Linked DNA regions of Homo sapiens: region 1 is linked to region 2. The links are contacts of gene promoters, found by promoter capture Hi-C in blood cells and fetal thymus (Javierre and others, 2016). All regions are on one chromosome and are shown on one strand. Each heading gives the region's core, a stretch centred on a gene start or on the middle of the fragment in contact. The rest is flanking DNA. Distances are from core to core; before and after follow the strand shown.

Region 1 (4,272 bases), core at 968-3,467, 1.4 Mb after region 2:
GAGAAGGCATGTAGTAGAGAACAGATTGAAGAAAGAGGAGGTGCTAGCAAAGAAATCAGAAGACCAGCAAACTAGGTAGGTGTAGATCCGGGGAAGTGTCTTAAAAGAAAGGGAAAAAGGGTTTCAAGTAGGGGATGGGGATTGGTGAAAACCGTAACTGTTTCTTTTGAGAATGTGTCAATGAAAGGAACGTTGATAGCATAGCAACTGGAGGGAGTAACATCACTGAATTAAAAAAAAAAAAAAGACAAAAGAAACTTTTTTTTTTTGAGACAGAGTCTCACTCTTATCGCCCAAGCTGGAGTGCAGTGGCGTGATCTCGGCTCACTGCAACCTTCACCTCCCGGGTTCGAGAGATTCTCCTGCCTCAGCCTCCCGAGTAGCTGGCATTACAGGCGCACACCAGCACGCCTGGCTGTTTGTATTTTTAGTAGAGACAGGGTTTCACCATGTTGGCCAGGGTAGTCTCGAACTCCTGACCTCATGTTATCTGCCCGCCTCTGCCTCACAACGTGCTGGTATTACAGGTGTGAGCCACCGCACCCAGCCAAGACAACAGAAACTTCTGAGAAACAGAAAGGAAGAAGACAGTGGATAAGAACATATTTACATTATAAGGCGCTAGGAAAGTAGTGGTGGAAGGAGAAGGTGGGAAGGGATGGCATAGTTTCAGGCAGAGGGAGTGGCTTTGGAGAGAAGGGTTCTGGGTTAATTTGGTTAGAAGTTTTGGGATCACGAACAGGAGGTGGTCACAGATATTTTATAATGGAGGCAAGGTCAAACCGGAATTGGAGTCCCATAGCTCTGAGCCCAGGAAACTGGATGAATTTATCTATTAGTATGGACTGGGACTGGCATCTTTAACAACATGGAAAGCTTGAAACAGTCTTTGTGGAAAATAGGAGATCAGCCAGAGATTAGAAGAAAACGCAAGAAAATTATAAGTAGGAGTCCAGTCACGAATTCATATCCAATCTGGTCAGTTATGACTTCCTCCAGCGAAAAGCCACACATCTTGCAAACCCTTGAGAGAGAAAACACAAATAGGGGTAACCTACTGGAGACAGGCCCTTAAGACTATAAAGTAGTTGAGCGATTCCATACTGAAATAGAGTTGGCTATAGCGATAGAGAAGTTAGTCATATATGGGGCTAATGATCCAGGAGAGTAAGGATTCACTTTTGTGGTGAAAAGTTGTAAGCAGGTGAAAGGTAGGGATCCATGGCCACGGACGGGCAGGTGGAGATCAGGGAAGAGGCGACGTTAAACATAAATAGTTTGTTAATGATTTCACCTTACTGATTATTTCTCTTTTGGCATCTAGAAGGCTAAGATTCTCATGTGTATTTCAGAGCTACTGAAAGTAGTCCTAGGTTGTGGAGGGAGAAATCCACTTTCACAGCTGAGTCTATCTTCTCAGTCTAGTTATATTCTCCTCTCACAAACTAGCCAATGCTGCCGCCTTATGCAAAGCCGACACCACGGAAAGATGTGCTTTACAGAGGCAGGATGACGCCAATCGGCCTAGGGCCGGCGGTGTTTCGTCTAGATTAATGGCGAGGGAAGTCCCCAATAGTCCTTTTGAAACCTTTTCACTCTTGCCTGGTGAAAGCGCTTGTCAGCCGTAAATCGCGAATACAATGCTAAGCTCTGAGGCCCTTGCTAAATCCAAGTAGGAGCAGGGATCTGCGCGGCCTCACCCTCGGGTTTCCGCAGGGCGTCTCGAGAGCTGCGGATGGGGGCAGCAGGAGCCGGGCGGGAACAGAGGAAAGCGCCGGCCCTGAGACCTAGGGAGGAGCCTCGGTGAAGGAACCCGGGGCGGGTTCCTGCCTAGATCTCCAAGAAGCTCCAAAAATGGCGGGCGGCAACTCGGCGAGCCGGACGCGCAGGCGCCACCGTGGCCGTCCTTCCGCCAGCCGCGGGCGGCCCAAGAACCGTCCACAGCGCCCTTATCCAGAAGCCTACGCCTCTCGCGATTGGCTGAACTGCGCGAGCGCTCCGTGTGGGGGCGGGGCCGCCACGCAGCGGCCACGTTTCCCGCCCCGCTGGTGCGCGTGCGCGCAATCCCCACTGGAAAGCGTTTGCGCGCGCCCCTGCCGCGGCCCCTAGCTCGCGCCTCAGCTCCCTCCCCTTTCCGGGCAGGCCCGTCCCGTCAGCAAGGCAGTGAGCACCGCGGCCAGCAGAGGGCGGTCCGGACCCAAGTCTGCAGCGGCGCCATTGGCGTGTGGAAAATGCCACCAGATGGCGGGTTAGGATTGCAGCTCCGTTGAAGGCGCGGCCCCCGCTCCCGAACCCCCGGCGACCACCCCGTAACAACCCCCCCACATCGGGAATAACACACCGGAGACTTTTGGGGGGAAACTAGGTCGATGGTCGGCGGCGCCCGGATGGGCAGCTGAGGTGAGTGCGGGCGGCGGCGACGGCGGCGGGGGGCGGGAAAGAGGGGGAATGCGGCGGCAGCGGCGCGGGGGCTGGAAGCGCCGATCCAAGATGGAGGCCGGGCGAGAGCGAGAGAGCGCGAGCGGCGAGCGGGCGGGCCGGGCGCGGGCCCCGTGCGGGGGAGGGAGGCCGCGCGGGCCTGTGCGGGGTGCGGCGGTCGTGGGCCGTCCGAGTGCCCGGAGAGACGTCTGTGGGCGCGGTGGGCACCCCGGCGTCTTCGTCGCTTGCCACCCCTCCCGCGGGCACCAAAAATTTTGCCCCCGCCCGCCCGGGCACTACGGCGACAGGCGCGGAAGCCTTTGTGGCGCGCTCGGGCCCGCCGCCAAGCCCGCCCTCCGCCCCCCCCCGCCCGGGCTCTCGGGAGTCGCCCGCGCCCAGCGGGGCCGGGCCGACGCGGGCTGGCGCGAATGCCTTCCGCCGCCTGCCGACCTGCGTTTCTGCGGTGTTTTAGCGGCGGCGGCGTCACATGACAACGAGTTCATTTCAGCGGAGGGGCCTGGGGGGTCGCTCGGCGGGGCGGCTGGCCCAGGCTTCTTGTTGGCGGGGTGGGGCAGCGGGGTGGCGGCTGGGGGAGATGCATCAATGCTGGGCTTTCCAGCTATCTGCCCTCTCAGCCCCCGACGGGGGCCTCCTTGTGAAACGTGTCCAGGCCTAAGCACTGCCCCGCTAGTTTGCCAGTCCCCTGAGAGACGAGGCCAATAAAAGTTGTTTTCCCTCCTTTCTCGAGGTGGGGGCGGGGTGGGAAACTAGAGTGCTTGGAGTTGGACCTGAGCCCCGTTTGCAGGGTCCGAACTGGGTTCTTCTTGTATGGTATGGGTACTAAGAAATTTTCAGGTTTTAGGATTGTCACGTCACCCCCATCTACCCACATTTGAAATGTTATCTGTCGATTCTCTTCACATTGCAGGGAATCGTGCTCCGGGAGTATAAGTCATAGGATAGTTTTGGACACTTACAGACAAAAAAAAAACAAAAAAAAAAAACGCAATTTGTCATAAAAAAAAATTATTTGCTGTTAAAGTTGGTGTTAAGATGGATAGAGTTTATTCTCGTGATTCTGACTAGAAAGACTTGCATCTTCGCAAAAATAGTGTTTACTTGAGAAAGTATCTGAATTGGCACAAAGTTGTGTGATTTGTAACTTATCTGGAATTTGAATGACTCTACATTTTAGTTTTCCTCGTGTTTTAAGAAAATTGCACATTCCGATGGTGAAGCACTTAGGGAAATATACAGAAGAGTGAAAATAAAAATAACTTGTTTATTGTATGGTAATGTAACGTACCTTGTTCTAATATTCATAATGTATGAGGAATTCAGACTGAAAAATTTTAACCAAGTAGGGAAATATGGAATGGAAAGAAGCAGAAATGTTATTTCCTTGCTTTTGATGATTAAGAATACTTATAAGACAAATTGTTACCCAAATAAAGTTGTAGAAGATCTACAGGTGTTTTGCCACGCATTTTCCTTTACATATTTAAAACGTACTTCGAGTAAACTAAATTAATTCAAGTGATCTACCAGTGGTCATTTTCACAAACGAACTGCTTTTGAGTGGAAATTTTTCTGTATCCACTTCAGTTTCGATGTTCTGATAAGGCTAAGGAATATTTAAATAGATGCAAAATATGGAAGTTTGTTGTGTTACTAGGATTGCCTCCTTTGAAGAGACTAATAAAATGACTGTAGATTTGATTGGCTCTTTTAAAGCCTTAAAGGCACTATGGTGTAGGGGAGAAGGAGTGGGTCCTGGACCGAAGTTACTTTGAACGTCCCCTGGGTTTGTGGTGTTCAGGGTGTTACCTTTGAGCCTTACTTTCTTTATCTCTA
Region 2 (4,054 bases), core at 84-2,583:
AGCTTGGCCACCATGGTGAAACCCTGTCTCTACTAAAAATGCAAAAAATTAGCTGGGCATGGTGGTGTGCACCTGTAATCCCAGCTACTTGGGAGGCTGAGGCAGGAGAATCGCTTGAACTGGGGAGGCGGAGGTTGCAGTGAGCCGAGATCGTGCCACTGCCTCCAGCCTGGGCAACAGAGTGAGAGACCGTCTCAAAAAAACAAAAAACAAACAAACAAACAAAAAACCCACATTACTTTCAGTGAAAAAAAACCTTAAGTTTATAGGTGACTTCTCAGTAGAAGATAATGCAAGCCAGAAGATAATAGAATGCTATTTTTGAAATGCTTTGTAAAAAAAAAACCACACACACACACACACACACACACACACACACACACTGCTTAACTGGTATTCGGTACTCAGTAAACACACCCTTTATGAATTAAGGTGAAACAAAGACATCTCTTTCTTTCTTTTTCTTTTTTTTTTTTTTAGACGGAGTCTCACCCTGTCACCCAGGCTGGAGTGCAATGGCACGATCTCAGATCACTGCAACCTCTGCCTCCTGGGTTCAAGCGATTCTCCTGCCCCAGCCTCCCAAGTAGCTGGGATTACAGGTGTGCGCCACCACGCCCAGCTAATTTTTTGTATCTTTAGTAGAGACAGGGTTTCACCATGTTGGCCATGCTGGTCTCAAACTCCTGACCTCGTGAGCCGCCCGCCTCTGCCTCCCAAAGTGCTGGGATTACAGGTGTGAGCCAGCACACTGGCTTCTTTTCTTTTCTTCTCTCTCTCTTTCTCTTTTGTCTCTTTTTTTTTTTTTTAGACGGAGTCTCGCTCTGTCGCCCAAGCTGGAGTGCAGGGGCGCGATCTCAGGTCACTGCAACCTCCGTCTCCTGGGTTTGAGGGATTCTCCTGCCTCAGCCTCTGAAGTAGCTGTGATTACAGACGTGCGCTACTGCGCCCAGCTAATTTTTGTATTTTTAGTAGAGACAGGGTTTCACCATTTTCCCCAGAGTGGAAAGAAATTTTTAAACAAACAAATATCTAGAAAAAAATTAATCTGTCGTCGGCCTACACTAAACAAACAGGAAAACTTAAACTGAGCTCTTCAGACAGAAGAAAAATGATTCCAAAGAGAAAAATGGAAATCCAGGAAGAAAAGAGTAAGGATGGAAAGAGTACATTTGTGGATGTATATACAAAAAAATATTGACTGCATAAAACAATAATTAAAAAAAAAGAAAAAAGGAAAAAAAGAAAATAAGTTCCCTGGGATCCCAGAATTAGGTTTGACCTTCCCGGTCCCTCTCTCGCGAGATCTGGAAACCGGAAGTGAATTATTTTGCAGGAGTCTACACCCAGGCGGTGGCTATACTTATTAAAGTTGGCGGGAGCTGAGCGATCAGTCGGTCCTGGGCTGGCTGTGGTGTAGGGCGTTGCAGGCAGCGCTCACCTCCTCAGGCCGGCAGAATGCGGGTGGCTGTGGCTGGCTGCTGCCACGGCGAGCTGGATAAGATCTATGAGACGCTGGCGCTGGCAGAGCGGCGCGGCCCGGGGCCTGTCGACCTCTTGCTGTGCTGCGGCGACTTCCAGGCGGTGCGCAACGAGGCGGATCTACGCTGCATGGCCGTGCCGCCCAAGTATCGTCACATGCAAACCTTCTACAGGTGAGGACGCGGCCGGGCCCGGACTTGGCGGTGGGGGGGTGGGACTGGGTTCCCTCTGCCACTGGCTGCCTGTTTCCCTTAGATCCTGTCTTTGTTCTCTCTGTATCTCTAATTGGTGCCTAACTGAATACAGGGGTGAGGTAGTGGGAGGCGGGAAATGTATTCAGTTCGGTACTGTATTCAGTTAGGTACCAAATTATGTCAGTTTCACTAGCACCCTATCTCATTAGGTGCTTAGGAAATGTCACTTTCCTTCTTTCCATACACATCTTATCCATTTCAAAGGGTGTCGAAGCCTGGGAGGGGATAACCTGGAGGAAGAAGCTGACAGGTTTAGATAGCTACCTTGTACTTGATAGGACTCTGGAATTAGTTCATTCAATGATCCTGAAGTTTTTACTGGGCCCCTGCTATGTGCTTGTTGTGGTTCTAGAAGATGAGGTTATGGCAATGAACTCGAAACAGTTCTTGACTTAATTGAACGGGCACTGACTTGAGGCTCAAGGTGGAAGCTCTTCATTCCTAAGGGCAAGGATGGATACTGGGCAATTCCTTTTTTTTTTTTTTTTTTTTTTCTTGAGACAGAGTTTCGCTTTGTTGCCCAGGCTGGAGTGCAGTACCGCGATATTGACCCACTGCAACCTCCGTCTCCTGGGTTCAAGCGATTCTCCCACCTCAGCCTCCCGAGTAGCTGGGATTACACCCAGCTAATTTTTGCATTTTTAGTAGAGACGGGGTTTCACCACATTGGCCAGGTTGGTCTCGAACTCCTGACCTCAGGGGATCCGCCTGTGTCGGCCATCAAAAGTGCTGGGATTACAGGAGGGAGCCACCGCGCCCAGCCCCAGGCAATTCCTTTTGAAAGAGCTTTTTAACTTTTTATGATGAACTCAGTTTCTTTTTTTTTTTCGGAACTTATTTGCTTTTCTGCTATGCCTAATTGTGGTAACTGACTTTGCTCTTATGTTCTAGGTATTACTCTGGAGAGAAAAAGGCTCCAGTTCTCACGCTCTTCATTGGGGGAAACCATGAAGCCTCAAATCATTTGCAAGAGTTACCCTATGGTGGCTGGGTGGCACCAAACATTTATTATTTAGGTATGTGATTGTGTTTGTGGATACTTTTTTTTCCTGGGATGGAAGAGCTTATCAGGATTTGCGTTAGTTGGACTGTGTCTTGACATGTATGGTGTTTGGAGAATGTCATTAATTTAAATACTTAATCGTGAAAATTTAATTAAGATAGTTAATTATTAAATGGTTGATCATGAAAATATGCCCTTCATCTAGTGTTTTAAGCACTAGCTAATATAATTGCAAAGACCTCACACACTATTTGTAGTCCCTTCATTTTTTCTTACAATTTTTATTGAATTAAAGACCTTAAACTTTTATTAATAGAAATTCTTAAGCATACACAAAAGTAGAGAATAGTATGATGAATCTCAGTACCTGTTAACCAGCTTCAACGACTATTATATTGCAATCTCCTGGATTTTTTTTTTTTTTTTTGTGGGAAGAGATGACTAGAGTATTTAAAGCAAGTCCAACCGTTAGATTATTTCACTTATACATATTTCAGTACATGTTTTTAAGTGATAAGGATCTTTAAAAATACTACTACAGTACTGTTATTATACTTAACTGAAGTAATCATTATCTATTGCCATGTTCGTGGTCAGATTTCCCTGCTTAATGTAAAGATGTCTGCTTTACAATTGGTTTAAATAGGACCCAGACAAGGCCAGCCCATTTCATTTGGTTGTCATGACTCTGAAGTCTATTAGACTAAAATAGTCTCCCTGTCTCGCTTTTTCATGCCATTTACTTGCTGAAGAAAACAGGAAATTTGTCTTGCAGCATTTCCTGCATTCAGGATTTAGCTGATTGGATTCCTTTTATCCTTTGCATTTCCTATAATCTGCTTTTAGATTTTCAGATTTGATTAGATTGTCTCAATATTGGCCCCTATAAACTATATAGCCTTTTCATCCCTTTATTTTTCGAGACAAGGTCTGGTTCTGTTGCCCAGGCTGGAGTGCAGTGGCCTGATCTCAGCTCATTGCAACCTTCGCCTTCCAGGCTCAAGCCATCCTCCCACCACAGCCTCCCAAGTAGCTGTGACTGCAAGCGTGTACCACCACGCCCGGCTAATTTTTTTGTTTTTTTGTATTTTTTTGTGGAGACTGAGTTTGGCCATGTTGTCCAGGCTGGTCTCGAACTCATGAGCTCAAAGTGATCCGCCCACCTGGGCCTCCAAAGTGGTGGGATTACAGGGATGAGCCACCGCACCCAGCTTCATCCCTTTATTTAAATGTATATTCTTTCTAGAACAGTTTATAGATTTTACCAATGATGAGATCATATTTCAGAAATTTAGTTTCCCTACTTTGCTACTTA

The links. Contacts are between HindIII fragments. The CHiCAGO score rates a contact against its expected background, and 5 or more counts as called.
Region 1: the fragment with the promoter of STAG1 here is called in contact with the fragment with the promoter of DBR1 in region 2 in 1 of 17 cell types (total B cells); the score reaches 5.6 in total B cells.

Annotation. Positions count from the first base shown.
Region 1 is chr3:136,750,323-136,754,594 of GRCh38, reverse strand. STAG1 (STAG1 cohesin complex component) reads left to right here and starts at 2,217. Exons shown (of 34, transcript NM_005862.3): 1 at 2,217-2,400. STAG1-DT (STAG1 divergent transcript) reads right to left here and starts at 1,924. Exons shown (of 1, transcript NR_185911.1): 1 at 1-1,924. RefSeq lists enhancers at 909-1,840, 1,634-1,953, 1,841-2,772 and silencers at 1,964-2,193, 2,514-2,893. The HindIII fragment of the contact is 7,208 bases long and covers 879-4,272 here.
Region 2 is chr3:138,172,200-138,176,253 of GRCh38, reverse strand. DBR1 (debranching RNA lariats 1) reads left to right here and starts at 1,333. Exons shown (of 8, transcript NM_016216.4): 1 at 1,333-1,655; 2 at 2,628-2,752. The coding sequence starts at 1,459. RefSeq lists an enhancer at 1,418-1,627. The HindIII fragment of the contact is 14,113 bases long and covers 1-4,054 here.